Linked DNA regions of Homo sapiens: regions 1, 3 and 4 are each linked to region 2. Evidence: promoter capture Hi-C in 16 types of primary human blood cells and fetal thymus (Javierre and others, 2016). All regions are on one chromosome and are shown on one strand. Each heading gives the region's core, a stretch centred on a gene start or on the middle of the fragment in contact. The rest is flanking DNA. Distances are from core to core; before and after follow the strand shown. Region 1 overlaps PTPN11 (protein tyrosine phosphatase non-receptor type 11). Region 2 holds the start of OAS3 (2'-5'-oligoadenylate synthetase 3). Region 3 overlaps TPCN1 (two pore segment channel 1). Region 4 overlaps SLC8B1 (solute carrier family 8 member B1).

Evidence for each region. Contacts are between HindIII fragments. The CHiCAGO score rates a contact against its expected background, and 5 or more counts as called.
Region 1: a fragment that was not itself captured here is called in contact with the fragment with the promoter of OAS3 in region 2 in 1 of 17 cell types (M1 macrophages); the score reaches 5.0 in M1 macrophages.
Region 3: a fragment that was not itself captured here is called in contact with the fragment with the promoter of OAS3 in region 2 in 2 of 17 cell types (naive B cells and activated CD4 T cells); the score reaches 5.3 in naive B cells.
Region 4: a contact is called between a fragment that was not itself captured here and the fragment with the promoter of OAS3 in region 2, in 1 of 17 cell types (naive CD4 T cells). The highest score is 5.3, in naive CD4 T cells.

Annotation. Positions count from the first base shown.
Region 1 is chr12:112,457,183-112,460,038 of GRCh38, reverse strand. All of the region lies in intron 6 of PTPN11 (protein tyrosine phosphatase non-receptor type 11), which reads right to left. LOC124903023 (a long non-coding RNA gene) reads left to right here. Exons shown (of 3, transcript XR_007063466.1): 3 at 2,135-2,289. Among named protein-coding and RNA genes, the nearest start is that of PTPN11, 40 kb to the right of the region's middle. The HindIII fragment of the contact is 3,793 bases long and covers 1-2,856 here.
Region 2 is chr12:112,936,568-112,939,795 of GRCh38, reverse strand. OAS3 (2'-5'-oligoadenylate synthetase 3) reads right to left here and starts at 1,322. Exons shown (of 16, transcript NM_006187.4): 1 at 1,089-1,322. The coding sequence starts at 1,265. RefSeq lists enhancers at 604-773, 1,197-1,366, 1,330-1,639, 1,534-1,703 and a silencer at 1,020-1,109. The HindIII fragment of the contact is 11,275 bases long and covers 1-3,228 here.
Region 3 is chr12:113,236,833-113,239,787 of GRCh38, reverse strand. The region is part of intron 2 of TPCN1 (two pore segment channel 1); the gene reads right to left. Among named protein-coding and RNA genes, the nearest start is that of TPCN1, 17 kb to the right of the region's middle. The HindIII fragment of the contact is 2,975 bases long and covers 9-2,955 here.
Region 4 is chr12:113,331,201-113,333,999 of GRCh38, reverse strand. It overlaps SLC8B1 (solute carrier family 8 member B1), which reads left to right. Exons shown (of 16, transcript NM_001358345.2): 2 at 1,040-1,277. The coding sequence starts at 1,122. Among named protein-coding and RNA genes, the nearest start is that of SLC8B1, 2.5 kb to the left of the region's middle. The HindIII fragment of the contact is 1,455 bases long and covers 523-1,977 here.

The DNA.
Region 1 (2,856 bases), core at 182-2,681, 480 kb after region 2:
GAGGTGGAGGTTGCAGTGAGCTGAGAATGCACCATTGCACTCCAGCCTGGGCAACAGAGTGAGATCCATCTAAAAAGAAAAAAACACAAATTGCAAGTGTGTGTGTGTGTGTGTGTGTGTGTGTGTGTGTAGCAATCAGGAAAATGTGACTGATATGTGTTAATATTAAGGAAATACTGTTAATAGTTTTAGATATGATAATGCTATTCAGGTTATAATTTTTTGAAATAAAATAGTTACAGACGAAATGATGTGTTAAGATTTGCTTCAAGGCCGGGAGCAGTGGCTCACACCTACAATCCCAGCACTTTCGGAGGCCAAGTCAGGCGGATCACCTGAGGTCAGGAGTTTGAGACCAGCGTGGCCAACATAGTGAAAACCCTGTCCCTACTAAAAATACAAAAATTAGCTGGGCATGGTGGTACACACCTGTAATCCCAGTTACTCAGGAGGCTGAGGCACAAGAATCACTTGAACCCAGGAGGCGGAGGTTGTAGTGAGCCAAGATCAAGCCACAGCACTCCAGCTTGGGGGACAGAGTGAGACTCCATCTCAAAAACAAAAAACAAAACAAAACAAAACTCTATCTCAAAAAAAAAAAAAAAGTATTTGCTTCAAGACAAGTCAGGGCTGGGGAAGTGAGTGGGGCAGAGTCGAAAAAGATTGGCCATATTATCAACAGTTGTTAATGCTGGGTGTCAGGTATACTGCTATAACTATCCCATTCTCTCTACTTTTGCATATAATAGAAATTTTCCACACTAAAAAGTTTTGGAACAATCGGCTTTCCATTCAATTTTGATGAGCGGTTTCTAAAACTTCTGTATCTTCCCATCTTACCTCATGAGGCTTTATGAAGGTGAAATGAAGTGAAAGTAATGAAATGAATGACTGCTGAAATGCTGCCTTTTATTATTTAGGCAGGCAGGGGACAAGGAAGGCAACAGTGAGGCTGAGATTTCAAAATTCTGTCTCACTATGTTTATCATCAATTTTTTTTTTTTTTGGGACAGGTTCTGGCTCTGTTGCTCAGGCTGGAGAGCAGTGACGTGATCTCAGCTCACTGCAGCCTCAATCTCCCAGGCTCGAGCAATCCTCCCACCTCAACCCCCAGAGTAGCTGGGACTGTGGGTGCGCACCCCCACACCCAGCTACTTTTTGTATTTTTTGTAGAGACGGGGTTTTACCATGTTGCCCAGCCTGGTCTCAAACTCCTGGAATCAAGTGAGCTGCCTGCCTCACCCTCTAAAAGTGCTGAGATTACAGGAGTAGCCACTACGCCCCAGCCTATCATCACTTTTTCACTGATGCTTTTCATCACTGTTTTCCTTCTCTCAACTAAAAGCTCCCTTTAAAGGCAGTAACCCTGTCTGTCTTGTTCACTAGTGTCTTCAGAGCCTAACGCGAAGCCTGGGATGAGAGAATAAACTCAAATTCAAGTCTCTGTTCAGTAATGTTGAGCAAGGACTGAGAATGTTCTATTCCACACTCCTCCCCACTGCTGGAATTCAATCAATATCTGTGGTATGGGCCGGGCACAGTGGCTCACACCTGTAATCCCAACACTTTGAGAGGCCAAGACAGGAGAATTGTTTGAGCTCAGAAGTTCAAGACCAACCTGAGTAACACAGTGAGACCCCATATCTACAAAAAATGAAAAATTAGCCGGCTATGGTGGTGCACACCTGTAGTACCAGCTACTCAGGAGGCTGAGGTGGGAGGATGGCGTGAGCCCAGAAGTTGGACGCTGCAGTGAGCTATGATTGCACCACTGTACTCCAGTATGGCAGCAAAGTGAGACTCTGTCTCAGGAGGAAAAAAAACAAAACAAAACAAAACAAAAACTGTGGTATGAAGATTGAATAATTTACTTAACCTCCCTTAGGCCCCTCAGCTGGAAAATGGGAAATCATATCTATCTCAGCAAGTTGTTCAGACATACTCTGGCTAAAAGGACTTTATTTGCCCAGTATTCACTTATTCATTCAATCCACAAATATTTATAAATTGTAGTCCTCAAAAAGCATAGAATAATCATTCCCATAAAACAGAACAGGAAAATAAAATGATGTAAACATGAGTTAAATGTAAATCTCATTCAACAAACATTTATGGAGTTTCTTCTGTGTACTAGGCACCGTGCTACATGCTGGGGACAACTGCAAAGGTAAATATGCCAGAATCCTTGTTTTTGAAGTTTTCTGTCAAATGGATGAGGAGAAAATGAAAGAGATCACATTGTCAATGGGTAAGTGATATAGAAGAGTGCAATGGGAACACAGCACATTCCCATCAGGGACATTCTCCAACCCAAGTTAGTTTCAGGAAAGAGATCAGTTCACTTAAAGTCAGGAAACAACAGATGCTGGAGAAGATGTGGAGAAATAGGAATGCTTTTACACTGTTGGTGGGAGTGTAAATTAGTTGAACCATTGTGGAAGACAGTGTGGTGACTCCTCAAGGATCTAGAACCAGAAATACCATTTGACCCAGCAATCCCATTACTGGGTATATACCCAAAGGATTATAAAACATTCTACTATAAAGACATATGCACACATATGTTTATTGCAGCACTATTTACAATAGCAAAGACTTGGAACCAACCCAAATGCCCATCAATGATAGACCGGATAAAGAAAATGTGGCACATACACACCATGGAATACTATGCAGCCATAAAAAAAGAATGAGTTCATGTCCTTTGCAGGGTCATGGATGAAGCTGGAAACCATCATTCTCAGCAAACTAACACAGGAACAGAAAACCAAACAATGAGAACACATGGACACAGGGAGGGGAACATCACACACACTGTCTGGGGATGGGGGCAAACTCCTGGATTCAAGTGGTCCA
Region 2 (3,228 bases), core at 73-2,572:
CTCCTGGCACCCCCAAATCTACCCTGAGGATAAGGTAGCTCATGACTTGTCTCCTCCCTGAATCTGCGAGTGTCCTGGGATCACAGTGGCAGTGTGGCTGTATTTAAGTGACAAAAAGTGACCCGGAGCCTGGGCAACATGGTGAAATCCCGTCTCTACAAAAAATGCAAAAATTACCTGGGCATGGTGGCTCACACCTGTAATCCCAGCACTTTGAAAGGCCAAGGCAAGTGGATCACTTGAGCCCAGGAGTTCCAGGCCAGCCTGGGCAACACGGCAAAACTCTATCTCTACAAAAAATGCAAATAATTAGCCAGGCATGGTAGTGTGCACCTGTAGTGCCAGCTACTTGGGAGGCTGAGGTGTGAGAATAACTTGAGCCCAGGAGGCGGAGGTTGCTGTGAGCCAAGATCATGCTACTGCACTCCAGCCTGGGTGACAGAGCGAGACCCTGTCTCAAAAAAAAAAAAAAAAAAAAAAAAAAAAAAAGATGTGACTCAGAGTAGTAATTTAGCGTCTAGCCTCAGTTTCCCTATCCATAAAACAGGTACAATAATACCTGCCTCACTGAACGTGGGGATGAAATGAGGTAATACTCATTTAATGAGATAATTTTCATTGTTATTTGATAATGTCTCAATAAATTGGGCTACTCTGGCTGTTACGCGGAGTGTTATTACTTCTGTAACCTTAAGGTCTGGCATAGTGTGAGGCCCACAGTCTGTTTGAATGACTGGGAGAATGAGTGAATGAGTGAATGAATGGATAAGAAGCAGCCTCTGAGAGTAGAGATGCAGGAATCAGGCTACTTGGATTTGAATCCTGGCTGGGCCTCTTACAGGATCGGACACGTCACTGTACCTCTCTGTGCCTCATTTTCTCTATCTGTCAAGCGGGCTTAAGAGTACCTACCTGGCTCGTATGTTCGGGGGAGTTAGCACGGGGCTGGCACATTGGAAGTATTTGTTAAAGAAATGAATGAGGTGCACAAGCGGATAAAGCCACCCCCACCGTAAGCCTATGTGAGGCTTAAGCGTCCTCCCAGGACTCCCCTTTGGACACATAAAGACCCCGAGGTGGGACCTCACCTTGACAGTTTTCAGCACCCGCGGGGCAGCAGCACCGAGGCGGCCCCCGCGCTCCCTCAGGGCAGCGGCCAGGGCGCCCAGAGCGCGCCGCGCCTTCTCTACGAACTCCTTCCGCGGCTGCAGCCTTCTGGCCACGAACCTGTCCAGCGCAGCGGCCGGGGTGCTGTACAAGTCCATGGCCGCCCGGCGCAGGTGCAAGGGGAAGCAGGGCTCTGGCGCGGCCTTCGGATTTCTGGTTTCGTTTTCCCGCCCGGCTCTCCGAACCACGCCCAGCTGGCCAGGTCCTAGGTCCTCGGTCCCGCGCGTGGCGTGAAACGGGGAGGGGCGCTGCAGTTCCTGTCTTCCCCAAACTTGGGAAATTCCCTGCTTTCAGTTTCGTTTCTTTCTAGCAGCTCTTGGACCTGACACCCACTTCCTGGTCCCCTTCCCAGCTACGACTTCCTCTCCTTCATCTCCTTGCTTCCAGCCGTCCCTGCAACCACCAGCTCCAACGAACTAATCACAACCTAACAAAGTATACCCACAGAACATATGGGTACATACTGAGTAACGTACTCTGAGCATTTCAGAAACGTGCAGGTTTTACATGGAAAAAAAAGGTCAGGATTTAATAAACGGAGAAGTCCTACCTCGCTGTCTGACTGAGGGATGCGTTCTAAACACCACTACCACCACCAACGATAATAAAGCACACTTGGAGACTCTCACTGACTCCTCCCAACGACCATGGTGTAGGTGCTATTATCATCACCCATTTGACAGATGAGGAAGTCAAGGTACAGAGGAACTAGGTAACTGTCCAAGGTAACACAGCTGGAAAGTTGTCTGGCTGGATTCAAACCCAGCCCAAGCCCACAGAGCTGCCCTCTTCAGAAGCCAACTCTTCCTAAATAATTTATACGTGTAATGCAGTTCCAATAAAAATTCCATCTTTAAAAACTTCAAACACACGATCTAAAGTCTGTCTGCAAGAATTAAAAATTATTTTGGAGGAGAAGGAGGAAGGAAAGTCAGTCAGTTTAGGATGGTACCTTGCACAACAATACTACATATTAAAACATTGTAAAGCTACAATAGGGAAATCCTCTTGGAATGGGCACAAAGCTAAGCGGACTGTAAGCTATAAGCTGCAGAGTGGAGATTTGAATCCAGGACCATTGCGCTTCTATCTTCATGGCCTGTCTCCTTTTTCTGCTTATTTCCTGCTGCTTCTCCACCCGGGTTCCTAGAGACTGCACACCTGAGCTCTCTTCCAGGCCTGGTCCAAGCCATAGCCTATCTCCTCCTCCCCATCTTACTAAAAAACTCCCAGGTCCTCTCTCCTGTCTGCTCCGGGACCCAGCATTTACTCTGCCTCTGAGTACACTTCAGGTAATAGTCTTAACAAGTGCTTCCTGACATCTGCACGGTAACTGAAAGGAAATAGATAGGATCAGAGTGTGAATTTCAGAGGTCATGGTCAACTAGAGGGAGAGATGCTGGGTCTGTAATATGTACACCAGCTAATATTTTGAGTAGTGAATGCTGCATCACTTGGAATATTCAAGTATGGGCAGGTTTTGTAGGTCAGGTGTTGTGGTGGGGATTTAAGTCAAGGGATTGAGCAATGATTTTCATTCTCGCCCATTAATCACAGTCTTCTTCCTGAGTCACAGGCCACTTTAGAAACTTTCCATTCAAGATAGTGGATTGAACACATGCTCAAAATTCTATTAAAATAGCAGCAAAGATATATTAAAAGCATAATGGAAATCAACAGGGTTGGAAACTGAGAAAAAGTGGAGTCAAGGGGGCGGGACATTTGAGGCATTTTTAGAAGATGGAACGCAGAAGGGTCAATATTGGGTCATGATGGTGGACTGAACATATGCATAAGCCTTCAACGTCCATCCCAGGCCTCTAGAGGTGGCAGGAAAGCGATAGAAAAACTTTAATAATGTTGCTGGGTCCTAACCAGAGGTGTCCCAGGTAAACTGGAATCTGAGATCCCTGTCAGAGATATGAGACTGGATGAAGGAGGAAATTGCAGCCAAAACACATAAAGGAGGGGGTACCTATGCAGAGTGGAAAGGCTCTGAGGAGCTGCAGGCTCCAGGCAGTGGATTGAAGGAAAAGAAGGGACCCTAGGTTAACTCTCATG
Region 3 (2,955 bases), core at 247-2,746, 300 kb before region 2:
GGGAAGCTTAGATGGAAGGAAGGTTGGGATTGGACATGTGTGGGCTCCTGGGGAGTTCGAAGCTGGAAGCAGAGACCCAAACATCCAAAAAGTAGGCTGTTCCTAGGGGCAGCAACGCCATGCCCTGCTGGGCTACTTCTGGTCTGATCACATGTGAATGAGTCTCCTTGTCACCCTCCAGTGGCTCCAGGGGCTGGTTTAGCTGTGACAGTCACCTGGGACCCTGGATGTTTTTGGAAACCGGTGACTCACTCCCAGATATGCAACTTCTATTATGTCTATTATTGTGCCCAGAATATGTGTAGAAGAGACATGATCCCTGCCTTTGCAAAACTTGTACTACCAGAAAGAGGCACAGCTGTGTAAAACATCAGCACCTAAAACAACAGCCATTAACACCCAGGCATTACACTGGGTTAGGCCTCTACCTTCCTGCCCTGCCCTGCCCAGTCATCTCAAACAGGCATCAGGGAGACACAAGAAAGAAACTCACAAACCAGGTAAGCCCTAGCTGGGGGGAGCAGGATTCACAAAACCCTGCTTGATGCTGGATGAACAGAATGGGTATTATTCATACTACGAAAGGATTCTTTGCCAAACTTAGCCCTCCCACCTATATTTTATTTTGAAATATATATGTATATATGTATTTCTAGAGACAGGGTCTTACTCTATGCCCAGGCTCGAGTGCAGTAGTGTGATCATGGCTCACTGCAGTCTCAGACTCCTGGGCTCAAGCAATCCTCATGCCTCAGCCTCTCAAGGAGCTGAGACTACAGGTGTGCACCACCACACCTGGCTAACTTTTTTTAACTTCTTTTTAGAAATGGGGTCTCACTATGTTGTCCAAGCTGGTCTCAAATTCCTGGCCTCAAGTGATCCTCTCGCCTTGGTCTCCCAAAGTGCTAAGATTACAGGGTGAACCACTGCGCCTGGCTCCCACCCGTATTTTAAATTACCTAATTCATCAAAACTCCATTTTCTCACAATCCATCATGGCACAAAGCAAACTCTGATTCAATCATCAAATCGATCACATCCCGGTGCTGGGGAGCGAGTGGGTCTCTGTGCCGTGAAGAGCAGAGAAAGAGGTATAAACAGCATACCTGGAGAATGAGAGACTGTGGAAACACAACCACTATCCTCAAAGGTTAGGGAAGGCTCTCAAGGCCTTCAGCTAAATAAACAGGAAGGGCCAGGAGTGGTGGCTCATGCCTGTAATCTCAGCACTTTGGGAGGCCGAGGCAGGTGGATAGCAAGAGATAGCAAGAATGGCTCTGGGGAAGACTTGGTCATTTAAGGTAGCAAAAAGGACACTCTAATATACAGCTACTGGATTGTTGCCAGGCCAAGGAGCAGGGGTCACACCCACGTGGCACTCACAGGACATATCTGCAAGTCTTCCAAATGCTGCTGAAGCAGGAAGCCACCAAAACTAGGACCCCTAAATCATGTTTTTTAAGGAAAAAAAATAAGCGGCACTGCTGCTGCAGTAACATGATGCTCTCTGCTTGCTTCTACAGCTAAAATATGTGGGCAAAGAGATCAGAATATTTTTAATAATTTGTCATCCAAATACCCAAGCTGTATTCCAAGATGCCAATTCCTCAATACCGGAAGTGTGGCTATGAGGATAGGTTTCTCCACTAAGTGGGAAAGGCAGAACATCAGGGCTTTATCGTGAAGGAGGATGATAAAATGAGAGGTAGGCTGCCATCTGAACAGACTAAGAACTTCCTGATCAACCCAAGATGGGTTGTTCAGGGGACTGTGTCAGTGCACTGGAACAAAGCAGGAACTTATCTGCCGGAAACAGAAGCCACACTTTTTATTCAGGAGAGTGGCCCTGGAACTTCAACGTACTTTCTGATCCTAAGAGCTGGGTGTGGTGGGATTAGGGAGGGCAAAGTGGGAGATATGTGGCAGGGCTGGGCACAGTCAAACATCTTCCTCCCATCAGCTCTGCTTTTCTTTCACTAGCTGCTTCCTCCATGCCCAATACCGCTGGGATGTTTCTCATCAAAGAGCACCCTCCTGGGCCAGACCCCAGGCCAGGTGAGCCTATGAAAGTCCTCATCTGTTCAGCATTGTCCAGATGCTTCCTGAGTGCCTCTTAAGAAGTAGGGACTGGCCAGGCATGGTGGCTCACGCCTGTAATCCCAGCACCTTGGGAGGCCGAGGTGGGCAGATCACTTGAGGTCAGGAGTTTGAGACCAGCCTGGCCAATGTGGTGAAACCCCGTCTCTACTAAAAATACAAAAAAATTAACAGGGTGCGGTGGTGCACACCTGTAATCCCAGCTACTGGGGAGGCTGGGGCACTAGAATTGCTTGAACCCGGAAGGCGGAGGTTGCAGTGAGCCGAGACTGTGCCACTGCACTGCAGCCTGGGCAACAGAGCAAGACTCTAACTCAAGAAAAAAAAAAAAGAAGTAGGAACTGAGCTACTGAGCTGAGCTTCTGGGACCTGGGGAAGTTCAGTGACTGGTCAGGGAGACAGACACAGAGAGAAAAATGCCAAATCCGGCTCCTACTACTGCAGAATAGCCTGGCAGTTTCCTCTCCATCCACCTCTCAATCTCCAGAGGGAAAAGTAACCCCTATTCAGGGCTGACCCACCCCAGGGTTTCTAAGCTCAGGGCTTATCAAGTTGGCTAGAGACAGCATCCCGAGCTGGCAAGATGTCAGCAGGAAGATGCTCTGTCATCACTTGCTTTCTGGCCCAAACACATTTAGCAGCTCCCATGCCCAACTCAACCAGGTCCAAACTCCTGCCATCAGCATTTTAGGCACTCTGTAAAACAGATATGCCTGCTCTGACCCCTGACCCTAATTATAATGGCTGACATCCACCCAATGCTCATTCTGTATAAGCCAGGCACTGTGCTAGTTGTGTGAGGCATGCTATCTTGTATAAACCTCAGAACAGTCCTAAAAGGTAATACTAATATTAGTG
Region 4 (2,799 bases), core at 1-2,500, 390 kb before region 2:
TGGTGGCTCACGCCTGTAGTCCCAGCACTTTGAGAGGTCAAGGCCGGCAGATCACTTGAGGCTAGGAGTTCCAGACCAGCCTGGCCAACATGGCGAAACCCCGTCTCCGTTAAAAATACAAAAATTAGCTGGGCATGGTGGTGTGTGCCTGTAATCCCAGCTACTCGGGAGGCTGAGGCAGGAGAATCACTTGAACCCGGGAGGCAGAGGTTGCAGTGAGCTGAGATCGCGCCACTGCACTCCAGCTTGGGTAACAGAGTGAGACTCCATCTGAAGAAACAAACAAAAAACAAAAAACACTCCTCTGAGCCCCTCTCCCTGCTGTGCAGGGTGGGGTGGGGGGCGGGGGGGTGACATTTCCAGAATTGTTCTGAGGACTGCATGAGGGAGGCGTGATGCAGGGGGGAAACAAGCCTGGCTTCACCTGTCTGTGCCTCAGTTAGTTCATCTGTAAAATGGAATGCTAGTGCTACCCCCGCTCGGCATGTCGTGAGGATAGAATGAGGTCATCCATGTAAAGCTTGGCTCCTTGTAAGACACAGAACAACAGCATTGCTTAGTGGGCTCTGTAAAATGTGGTGGGCAAGCCTCTCTACGTCTCAAACTGGTGGCCCAGAGGCCAAGTCCACCCCTAGAAGTAGAGTTTGTTTTGTTTTGTTTTGAGGGCTTCTGCAATCCCGCCCACTGCCCACTTCCCACATGTATCTCACCCACCTGCCCCAGAAGCCTGAGACTCTGAATCTTGGCTCAAGTCCCAAGTCCCTTGCAGCCCTGGCATTCTGGCCTCAGGCTGGGGGCCAGGTGGGACTGGGTAGGTTTTCATGGGTTCTCAGGAAGAAGGGCGTATCTGATCTGCACGCTGAATGGGCAGGGCCTTGGGCCCCTCCAGCGAGACTGTGCAGAACATGGTTTCTCCGTCAGCTTAACTTTGCTGCCGGGAGGCAGGAAGGCAGTTCCTTAACTAGAGTCTTCCAGCCCCTTTTGCTGTGTCCATGGGTTTTCAGTAATGTTGTCCCCCTTTCTCACTCCCACCTTGCAGGCCACCGGAGCCGCCAGCTGTTTGGAACTGAGCTACTGCAGAAAGGGAAGTGGAGAGTAAGGGCCAGGCCCCGTGGGGGCAGATGGCCGGCAGAAGGCTGAATCTGCGCTGGGCACTGAGTGTGCTTTGTGTGCTGCTAATGGCGGAGACAGTGTCTGGGACTAGGGGCTCGTCTACAGGAGCTCACATTAGCCCCCAGTTTCCAGCTTCAGGTGTGAACCAGACCCCCGTGGTAGACGTGAGTATCCCGGTAGGAACCTGGGGTTGAGTGGGGCTGTGTTCCTCCAATCGATAAATATCTATTGAGCATCTACTATGTGCCAGGCACTGACCGCAGCCTGGGATATACCGGGGAACAATAGAGACAAAATTCACTACTCTCAAGAAGCTGACAGTCTCCTGAACAGACAGATCAAGAAGTAAACTTATACACTTTGGGAGGCCAAGGCAGGAGGATCACTTGAGGCCAGGAGCTGGAGACCAGCCTGGCCATCGTGTCAAAACCCCGTATCTACTAAAAATACAAAAATTAGCTGGGCATGGTGGCAGGTGCCTGTAATCATCAGAACCCTGAGGCAGGAGAATTGCTTGAAACCGTGAGGTGGATGTTGCAGTGAGCCAGGATTGTACCACTGCACTCCAGCCTGGGCGGCGAAGCAAGACTCTGTCTCAACAACAAAAAAAAGAGAAGTAAGCATATACATTTCAGGTGGCGATGTGCTAAGTGCCCCGCACACAATAGCTAAAGTGGTATGGGGGAGGGCGTGAGCTTTTCCAACTATTTCAGATTGGGTGGTCACAGATGGCTTCTGTGAGGGGGTGATATTTGAGGCAAGCCAGCGAATGGAGAGAGGAAACCACCTACATTGACACCCCGGGGAAGAGCATTCTGGGCAAAGGGAACAGCAAGTACAAAGATTCTGGAGCAGGAACAAGCTTAGTGTGTTCCCGTAACAGCAGGGAGGCTAGAATGGATGGAACAGAGCAAGTGAGGGGAAGAATGCTAAGAGAGGAGGATGGAGAGGTAATGGCGGGCAGATTACAAAAGGCCTTACAGGCTGCGGCTAGGAGGTGAGAATTGTTTTGCGATAGTGGGGAGCCAATGGAAGGTTTTAAGCAGAGGGTCCCAAAATCTGTGTTAGTCGGAGTTCTCTAGTGGGACAGAACTAATAGGATAGATGTATATGTAAAGGGGAGTTTTTAAAGGAATATTGACTCACATGATCACAGGTGAGGTCCCGCAATAGGTCATCTGCAAGCTGAAGAGCGAGGAGGTCAGTCTGAGTCCCAAAACCTCAAAAGCAGGGAAGCTGACAGTGCAGCCTTTAGTCTGTGGCTGAAGGTCCAAGAGTCCCAAAGCTGAAGAACTTGGAGTCTGATGTTTGAGGGCAGGAAGCATCCAGCATGGGAGAAAGATGCAGGCCAGAAGACCAAGCCAGTCTAGTCTTTCCACATTCTTCTGCCTGCTTTTATTCTGGCTGTGCTGGTAGCTGATTAGATTGCACCCACCCAGATTGAGGGTGGGTCTGCTTTTCCCAGTCCACTGACTCAATTTTTTTTTTTTTTTTTTTTTTCGAGAACAGTCTCACTCTATACCCAGGCTGGAGTGCAATGGCACGATCTCAGCTCACTGCAACCTCCACCTCCCGGGTTCAAGCGATTCTTATGCACAGCCTCCCGAGTAGTTGGGATTACAGGTGCACACCACCACACCTGGCTAATTTTTTTGTATTTTTAGTAGAAACAGGGTTTCACCATGT